Regions from separate parts of the Homo sapiens genome. Here all the other regions are linked to region 3. The links are contacts of gene promoters, found by promoter capture Hi-C in blood cells and fetal thymus (Javierre and others, 2016). All regions are on one chromosome and are shown on one strand. Each heading gives the region's core, a stretch centred on a gene start or on the middle of the fragment in contact. The rest is flanking DNA. Distances are from core to core; before and after follow the strand shown. Region 1 has its middle 5.3 kb from the start of METTL13. Region 2 overlaps LOC100506023 (a long non-coding RNA gene). Region 3 holds the start of SUCO (SUN domain containing ossification factor).

Evidence for each region. The method cuts DNA at HindIII sites, captures the fragments that hold promoters and counts their contacts. A CHiCAGO score of 5 or more calls a contact.
Region 1: a fragment that was not itself captured here is called in contact with the fragment with the promoter of SUCO in region 3 in 7 of 17 cell types (neutrophils, total B cells, fetal thymus and 4 more); the score reaches 11.5 in neutrophils.
Region 2: a fragment that was not itself captured here is called in contact with the fragment with the promoter of SUCO in region 3 in 3 of 17 cell types (neutrophils, fetal thymus and activated CD4 T cells); the score reaches 9.5 in neutrophils.

The regions. Positions count from the first base shown.
Region 1 is chr1:171,774,992-171,777,716 of GRCh38, forward strand. No RefSeq gene overlaps it. Among named protein-coding and RNA genes, the nearest start is that of METTL13, 5.3 kb to the right of the region's middle. The HindIII fragment of the contact is 4,827 bases long and covers 1-2,725 here.
Region 2 is chr1:173,472,368-173,475,164 of GRCh38, forward strand. The region is part of intron 1 of LOC100506023 (a long non-coding RNA gene); the gene reads right to left. Among named protein-coding and RNA genes, the nearest start is that of PRDX6, 3.6 kb to the right of the region's middle. The HindIII fragment of the contact is 981 bases long and covers 822-1,802 here.
Region 3 is chr1:172,531,874-172,534,981 of GRCh38, forward strand. It overlaps SUCO (SUN domain containing ossification factor), which reads left to right and starts at 1,277. Exons shown (of 24, transcript NM_014283.5): 1 at 1,277-1,624. The coding sequence starts at 1,563. RefSeq lists enhancers at 476-585, 646-895, 1,506-1,665 and a silencer at 1,216-1,385. The HindIII fragment of the contact is 4,223 bases long and covers 1-2,390 here.

The sequences.
Region 1 (2,725 bases), core at 220-2,719, 760 kb before region 3:
CAACTTCCCAAGTAGCTGGGATCATATGCATACACCATCATGCCCTGCTAATTTTTAAATTGTTTTGTAGAGACAGGGTCTCCCTATGTTACCCAGGCTGGTTTTGAACTCCTGGCTTCAAGTAATCCTCCTGCTTCAGCCTCCCAAAGATCTGGGATTACAGGTGTGAGCCACCATGCCTGCCCAGTGTACACTTTTAGATGGTGAATTTTATGTGAAGCATATCTCAGTTCAAAAAATCTTATTAAAAAAAAATCAGCCCAGCATGGTAGCTCATGTCTAGATCATTCTGATTCCAAATCCCAACCTTAACTTCTGTGCTATATAGTTTCTAGCTAAGGGTTCCCTCTTCTGTCAGCTGTCTTCAGAAATATACCATATTCTCTGAGGACATTTCTCTTTTGAGTCTTCAAACACCAGAGCTTACATGATGAACTGTTTAAAATTTTTTAAAAATTAAAAAAATGAAAAACATCAGAGCTGCTGCTTGGATGAAATTTTGACACGTGGAAATTTTTTTTCTACTGTATGTCAGCAGTGAGGATGAAGATATACTATTCAAAGATGAGATGAATTAAGAACAGTAAAATGTTTTGGCACCATAATTTGTGATTCTTCTTAGGAAAAGGTCATTCGTGCAGCCCCATGGCAAGAAAACAGTTTTAGTTTTAGAGAAGTATTACATACTATAACTTTTTTGTTGGACTAAAGGGAGTTTTGTTTTTCTGGTTTCTTTGAGGACTCTGGATCTGAACGTTAAAAAATCCTCTGGGTGGAGTACTCAAGTGAATTTTATTTATTAAATGCTGTTTTAAAATCCATTCCCTTAGTGGTAGAAAAATATTGTTATGGGCTGAGGACAGAGAGCATCTATAAAAATGGGATACATGAGATGGTCATGGGTTAGAGTGCTAGAGTGTAGGAGAAAAACAAAATGTTTTTCAAGTTTTTCTTTTCCTGCAAAGAAACTGAAGTTTGGAATAAAATTATGAAGAAAACAGTCTAATAGCTTACCCTTGTGGTTTTTCCCAGTATCCAGGCTGTAGAAAACAAAGACAGTCAAAAGGAGGCTTTGTGAGCCCCCTCATATAGGGGTCAAATGTATTCATGCACAGCCTGTTAACCTTGGCATCATTCCTTCATCTCCCCAGTCTTGCAGCTTTCAAAATGTTATTGCCTACTGGCCCCAAAGGCAAACAACTTGCAATGTATAATATGCCCTATATTAATGCCTTGCAGTCCATGCATATGAGGAAACCAATCCATCAACAGACGCCCTTAGTGACAGAGTAGGAAACTACTGCACAAAGAAAATCCTGGGAATCAAATACAATACCAGAGGCAGTCACGGCTCAATTCGCTCAGTCATATATAACTTTTTTTTTTCACTTACTTGTAATCAATTGGAATTTTGCCTTAATTATATATGTATAGGTATATATATTTAAGAAAGCAGTGTGTAATCATCTATGTTGAAACGAATTTGTTAATCTTGTACAAGGCTGGCACATTCACCCAAAGGGATTCTCTGCCAATGTGAAAATTAACTCTGTAGCTCTGAGCCTCTCCTTCCCATGGATTCAGTGTATGAGAAAAATTCTTGGCCAATCACAAGTGCTATACAAACTAAAAAATACTATGATGCACTGGGCATGGTGGCTTACACCTGTAATCCTACCGCTTTGAGAGACTGAGGTGGGAGGATCCCTTGAAGTCAGCAGTTTGAGACCAGCCTGGGCAACATAGGGAGAGCCTGTCTCTACAAAAATATATATTTTTTTAAATTAGCCAGGCATGGAGGCTCGTACCTGTAGTCCCAGCTACTTGGGAGACTGAGGTGGAAGGATCACTTGAGCCCATGAAGTCGAGGCTGCAGTAAGCTGTGACTGCACCACTGCACTCCAGCCTGGGTGACACAGTGAGACCCTGTCTTATATAAACAAACAAACAAACAAATAAATAAATAAATAAGTAGCTATTATCATCATCCCAATCTTAGGAATCCAATATCAGCTTGATAGTCACTTTTCAGGTCAACAATATCGTCAAGAAAAGTGTTGACACTCAGCTAATAAAATGGCAGAATGTTACCCTAGGATGTTATTGTGTCTGCCTTCTATTATCCCAAGATACAGGAGAACATTCATTTTTAAACTTCTCAAATGTGGAAAACAAACCCATTTGCTAAGATGATTTCCAATTTGAAATAGTTTCCAGCATTATATGAGCCACTCCCTGTACACCAAAGAGACATTCCCTTTACTTAATTTTATATCCCACTCGTGAAACATTTTCATGTGTTGGACCTACCAACTCCAACTGGATACCACTGACAGGAAGTGAGAAGGGTATGAGCCCTGGGGTAGGCATGCAGGGTGGGGAGACTGGCTTTTAGCTCTGGCTCTGGTTTTTACTGGAGTGATAACCTCTAAATTCTTTTCTAGCAACAGTTCTACAAATAATACCCCTTTCTCCTTCCCCGTTTCTTTCTACAGACTATTTCTTCAGTCATCCAGAGGCCGATGTAGGAGTCATTTATGAGTCCCTCAGTCTTTTATTCCCCCTATTCAATCAGTCATCAAGTGCCTCAGTCTTTCCTGAGAACATCTCTCAGATCAGGTCTTTCTGTCATGACTCTGCTTCTCTGTTGACTTCCTGTGGCCTGACAGGCTGAAGCTAAATATGTGGAATAGAAGACTCCTCAAAACCTGCCCTTTACCTCAGC
Region 2 (2,797 bases), core at 62-2,561, 940 kb after region 3:
TGTTCTGAGAAATGTGTCATTAGGCAATTTTGTCATTGTGTGAACATTATGGAGTGCACTTACACAAACCTAGATGGTATAGTCTACTACATACCTAGGCTACATGGTATAGCTTATTGCTCCTACGCCTCAAACCTGCACAGCACATTACTATACTGAATACTGTAGGCAATTATAACACCATGGTAAATATGGCTCAAGCCTGTAATCCCAGCCCTTTGGGAGGCTAAGGTGGGAGGACTACTTAAGCCCAGGAATTTCAGACCAGCCTGGGCAACACAGGTTAGGAAGACCCCGTCTCTACCAAAAATAAAACAATTGCCCAGGTATGGTGGCATGTGCCTGTAGTCCCAGCTACTCAGGAGGCTGAAGTGAGAGGACTGCTTGAGCCCAGGAGCTTGAGGCTGCAGTGAGCTATGATCACACCACTGCACTCCAGCCTGGGTGACAGAGCAAGGCCCTGTCTTAAAAAAAAAAAATGAAAAAAAAAAGGATAAAAAATGGTACACCTATATAGGGCATTTACCATGAATATAGCTTGCAGGACTGGAAGTTGCCATGGGTGAGACAGTGAGTGAGTGGTGAATGAATGTACTGTAGACTTTATAAACACTGTACACTTAGGCTACACTAAATTCATGTGTAAAAATTTCTTTCTTCAATAACAAATTAACCTTACCTTACTATAACTTTTTTACTTTATAAACTTTAAAATTGTTTTAATGTTTTGACTCTTCTGTAATAACACTTAGCTTAAAACACAAACACATTGTATAGCTATACAAAATACTGTATTTTCTTTTTTATATTCTTATTCTATAAGCTTTTTTATAATTCTAAAAGGTTATTGTCTTTTGAAACTTTTTAAACTTAAAAACAAAGACATAAATGCACACATTAGCCTAGGGCTTCACAGGGTCAGGATCCTCAAGACATCACTATGCGAAAGGAATTTTTCAGCTCCATTATCATCTTATGAGACCACCGTAGTATATGTGGTCCAATGTTGTATCACATGACTGTATAACTAGAGACATCTTGCTCTTTTACTCCCAGCTGTGGACAAACAAGAAACTTTGCTGTTGTGGCTGCAGGAAGGCGACCCAATGTTTCTCTAATACTTTGTACAACGTAGTCCTCATGCCCACTATGTGTAACAGGTCACAAATATTCATTAATAAAATATAGTCAAACCTTTAGGAGTTCACAATCTAGTGAGAGAGACAGGCATCATGGTGCACTGTTGTTTTTCCAAATGCCCATTGCTAATCTGTTCATTTTATTCTTCTGTCAAAGCAGTAAAGACAGAAGAGAAGATGTGAGTCATCCCAGAGTCACAGCCCTCTGGAAATGCCTGAAATCCATTCTTTCCTGTCCCTCAGATTACTGTAAGGACTTCAAGGTTCTCTCCGACCCTTATAGCTGTATGAAAACACTTTTTCTGATAGGAGAGCCTCCACCCTCTCTCTAAGGAAAGTAAATCCTTTCTTAGTCAAGCTCTCCCTTTTCCACACTCCGGTCTTTCCCTGGAATGTCTCCTCTGTCCTTCCTCCCCTCCTCCTTTCCCATTATACATCTCACTAACCCTCAGGAAAATAGCTTTAAAATTTTCCCTCTGGAATGGGGCCCAGTCCACAGAGCACCTACCTTTGGTATAAGTCAGATGTTAAACTCAATTACCTACGAAGGCCAGGCAGAACAGCGTTCTTCTGACTTTGTTTGCATATTAAGTTCATGGAACATTCTCTACTTTCACAAAGAAACATGATCATTTTTTTCTTGAAATATACAGCCCTTAGTTAAGCTTTCATTTGCACAGTTTTGACAGATAAGAATGCAAGAACTATTTCTTTTTCCTCCCAATTCTACTCTAATGTTAGTAACTGGCAGAGGACCTTCTGAGTAACAGAGAACATTGCCCTCTAAAAGGCTACTCAGCAGCCACTGTTTGCCAGATGGAACATGGGCCTGGTGTTGCTGTGTTGCTAGATCTTCTGACCTTTCAGGAGACAAAAATCCAGATATTTTTATGAAAAATCATGTTTTCAAAATGCTGATGTGGACGAAAGAAAGAGAGATCAGACTGTTACTGTTGTCTATGCAGAAAGAAGAAGACATAAGAAACTCCATTTTGTTCTGAACTAAGAAAAATTCTTCTGCCTTTAGATGATGTTAATCTGTAACCCTAGCCCCAACCCTGTGCTGGCAGAAACATGTGTTGTGTTGACTCAAGGTTTAATGGATTTAGGGCTACGCAGGGTGTGCTTTGTTAAAAATGTGTTTGCAGGCAGTATGCTTGGTAAAAGTCACCGCCATTTTCCAGTCTCAAGTACCCAGGGACACAATGCACTGCGGAAGGCCGCAGGGACCTCTGCCCAAGAAAGCCTGGGTATTGTCCAAGGTTTCTCCCCACTGAGACAGCCTGAGATATGGCCTCGTGGGAAGGTAAAGACCTGACCGTCTCCCAGCCTGACACCAGTAAAGGGTCTGTGCTGAGGAGGATTAGTGAAAGAGGAAGGCCTCTTTGCAGTTGAGATAAGAGGACGGCATCTGTCTCCTGCTCATCCCTGGGAATGGAATGTCTCGGTGTAAAACCCGACGTACATTCTATTTACTAAGATGGAAAAAACCGCCTTATGGCTGGAGGTGAGACATGCTGGAGGCAATACTGCTCTTTACTGCACTGAGATGTTTGTGTAAAGTCAAACATAAATCTGGCCTATGTGCACATCGAGGCATAGAACCTTTCCTTAAACTTATTTACGACACAGAGACCTTTGCTCACATGTTTTCCTGC
Region 3 (3,108 bases), core at 27-2,526:
AATTATCACCCTTTGTATAATTTCTCTAACATCAAATTGACTTATATCCAAGAATCACAGAGCGGATCAAATCATTCAGTTCTTTGGGACTATAATTAACATCCAATTCAACTTAGAAGGTTCATAAGGAAATTCCGCGGCTCAAAATTAGGCGTTAGGTGGGCATTTTACTGAGGGTTTTTTCCCTACGGCCACATGAACAATAAGTAACCCGTCCTTTAAACATTTTTCACACTAAACATTATGCCATGTTCCAAGGCACAGACCATTGCAGCCTCCGTCCCCTCAGCGGCGTAAACACTTGGAATGGGCATGCTGCCCCGTTACTTAGTATTGAGAAGTGGTCACTTTTTGCTCTTCTTAGGTGAGTGTAAGCGACTGCCTTCCCCACTTTAGGTGAACCCCAGGACTTGGAGCGTCTGTGGGTGCTCCTCTAATGGGGACAACTCCTCCCTTCCGACTCCATCGCAGAGAACCCAAAGTTCGAAACCAACAGAACGAAAAGCAACGAAGCACACTTAAAGTGAGGAACCCGGCAAGCGGCGAAATTCTTGCTGAAGAGAAGAAAAAGCGAAAGGTTTTCCGCTGCAACCAATCAGATGAGAGGATTCTTGGCACGCCCCTTTCTATCTACCAATCAACATCTAGCTCAATGGGGCAGTCCATTGCCACAGGGAAAGGGCTTGGTGCAGCTTCCCTCACAACACACACGTCATTCTAGGCCATTCCACGAACTGTGCTCAAAAGAGGAAAACAGTGCAACAGTTCCAAAGCTGATCAGTCTCGTGGTGAGCAGCGAAACTATAGACTTCTCTAACAAAACCATGGATTCTAGGAGGGACTGGGAAAGAGAAAAACGAATTCTGGAAGGCAAACTACAACTCCCAAAGGCCCTTGCGCGGACTCAGCGCGCGAGGGACGAAGGGCGGTCCACTGTAAGGGGAAATGCTGAGGATCACTGGGCTCCTCCCGGCTTTCTGAACGCAAGCCAGCAAGTGGGCGGGACCTGGGGCGGGCGGAGCGGCGAGAGCATCTGCTCCTGCGCTTTGTGGTCTCCTGCCTCCGGCTTCTCCGCCTGCGACGTCGAAGGGGGCGTGGCCTGCGCAGAGGCTGGTGGGGGTGCGGGCGCCGCGGGACTTGGGTGACGCGTCCCTTTCCAGCTCAGCGGTGTGTGAGGTGTCGCGGCCCCGCCGGCGATTGGCTGTTGAGAGGCGAGTACGCGGCGGCCGTTGGTCGCTGGCCTCACGGAGCAAGGCCCCCGGCGGGCGGGGAGGATATGGGGCGGCAGTGGCGGCTGCAGGAGGCGGGCGTGGACGAGCCGGTGGCTGCAGCGGCGGCGGTCCCCGGAGTCCTGTGAAGCGCCCCTGTCCGCGCCTCTGTGGGGCCCTCAGAGAGGGCTGCCAGGACGCGAGCCACTGAGGAGCCGCTCAGCCAGCGCCATAGCCCTTAGGACTATCGGTCACATTCTCGCGCTCCTGCTCCGGCTCCTCCATCTTGGCCTCGGCAGTGGCGGCTGCCGGGAGGATGTGCCGCCTTCTGGCAGGGGGAAGAAGGAGGAGAAGATGAAGAAGCACCGGCGGGCCTTGGCCCTGGTCTCCTGCCTCTTTCTGTGCTCTCTGGTCTGGTGAGTAGCCGCGACGACAAGGGAGTTCCCGTGAGGGGAGTAAATGGGAGGGAGCAGCCCAGGTCACACCCCCTGGTCATTTTGGCTTTTAGGGTCCGGGTTTCCAAGGCCCCCGTGGAAGGGACAAACCGATTACTTCTCGACTCTCCATCTGACTGGTCTGGTAGTGCTCTGTGCGGAGATTTTCATGGTGTATTTTGGAATTTACAGAGACTCAGTGGGAGAGAGAGAGGTGCCAAGGTAGAGGGAACCACCAAGTGCCTTTGTACTCAGTTCCTCTACCCCTTGGAGACGGTGCAGGGTTTGGGGTGGGTGTTCAGATTGATGGTAAGTAAGTTGCTCCGATTTGCCGCCAGTCTTTGCGTTCTTAGTGTGGTAAGGGGATAAAGCACGTCGGATGTGATGCGTTCCGGACGTGCGATTTTAAAACGTGAGTGGTCATGAAGGTAAGAGTAATGTATAAGCAGTAGTTCTCCTGGACATTTCTCGCACAGCGTTTGATCCCAAGTACACTCGGGCCGCTGTTTTTGGAAACTTGGGGGGCGTGTGTGTATGTGTGTTATGAAGCACTTTTTCAATTGGTTTGGTGGAGAGGGTGTCTTAGATGTAGTGTGTGTAGTAGTTTTTGGTAATGCCCCTTAGTGACGGGAAGGTAAATGCTGTATTTTCAAGGCGGGAAGAGTGCTTTGTCCCTAAAGCACTCCTTAAGTTTTACGGAGTTTCTGTTAATCCCAGGCACTTCTGGAGTTTTTTGAGGAGCAGAGAAAGCTTGTAAGTCGAGGGACTGCTGTCACCGTACTTGGAAAAGCCATTCTTTCCTCCCAGGGAATTTCTTCAAAGATGTGTGACAATTGATGACTGAAAAGATGCTTCTTCAGTCTAGGCGATTTGCTGTTTGTTATATTAAAATAGAAATTAAGTTTCCTGTTTTGCTTATTTCTGCAAAGCACCAACACTATTTTCATTTTTATGGATGCCTTATGGATTCCAGAAGCACTGAAATTGTAGAGTTGTTGCTCACATAAAATAATACATAAACAAGGGGAAGAGAAAACACTCGCCTGGCTGAGGGATTTTTATTGGAAGAATGATAGAAGTTTTTGAGAACAAAAACAATTGACTTATTACCTTTCATTCTGAATCCTTTTAATACCCGTCTCCTGTTTTTAATAAAATCCTCCCCTTTCTACTTACTGTGTTGGGTACGGAGAAGTGCCTGTAAGAGATAAATCCACTCACCTCATTTTAAATTTAAATTTGTAGATACTGAAGCTTGTATTCATTTCCATCTCTTTCTGGGGCTGCCTAGTTATATTTGTAGACTGTGTATTTTCTTTCCTCTTTCTTCTTGGTCTTGCCCATCTTTAAACCATGTTATTCATCATCAAAAGTTTCTGAAATGGCTAATAAGGAAAAGGTGAACACTTTCATTCAAGTTTAAAAACACACCAGTATCTCTGGCTTTTTTTAATTTTTTAATTGGA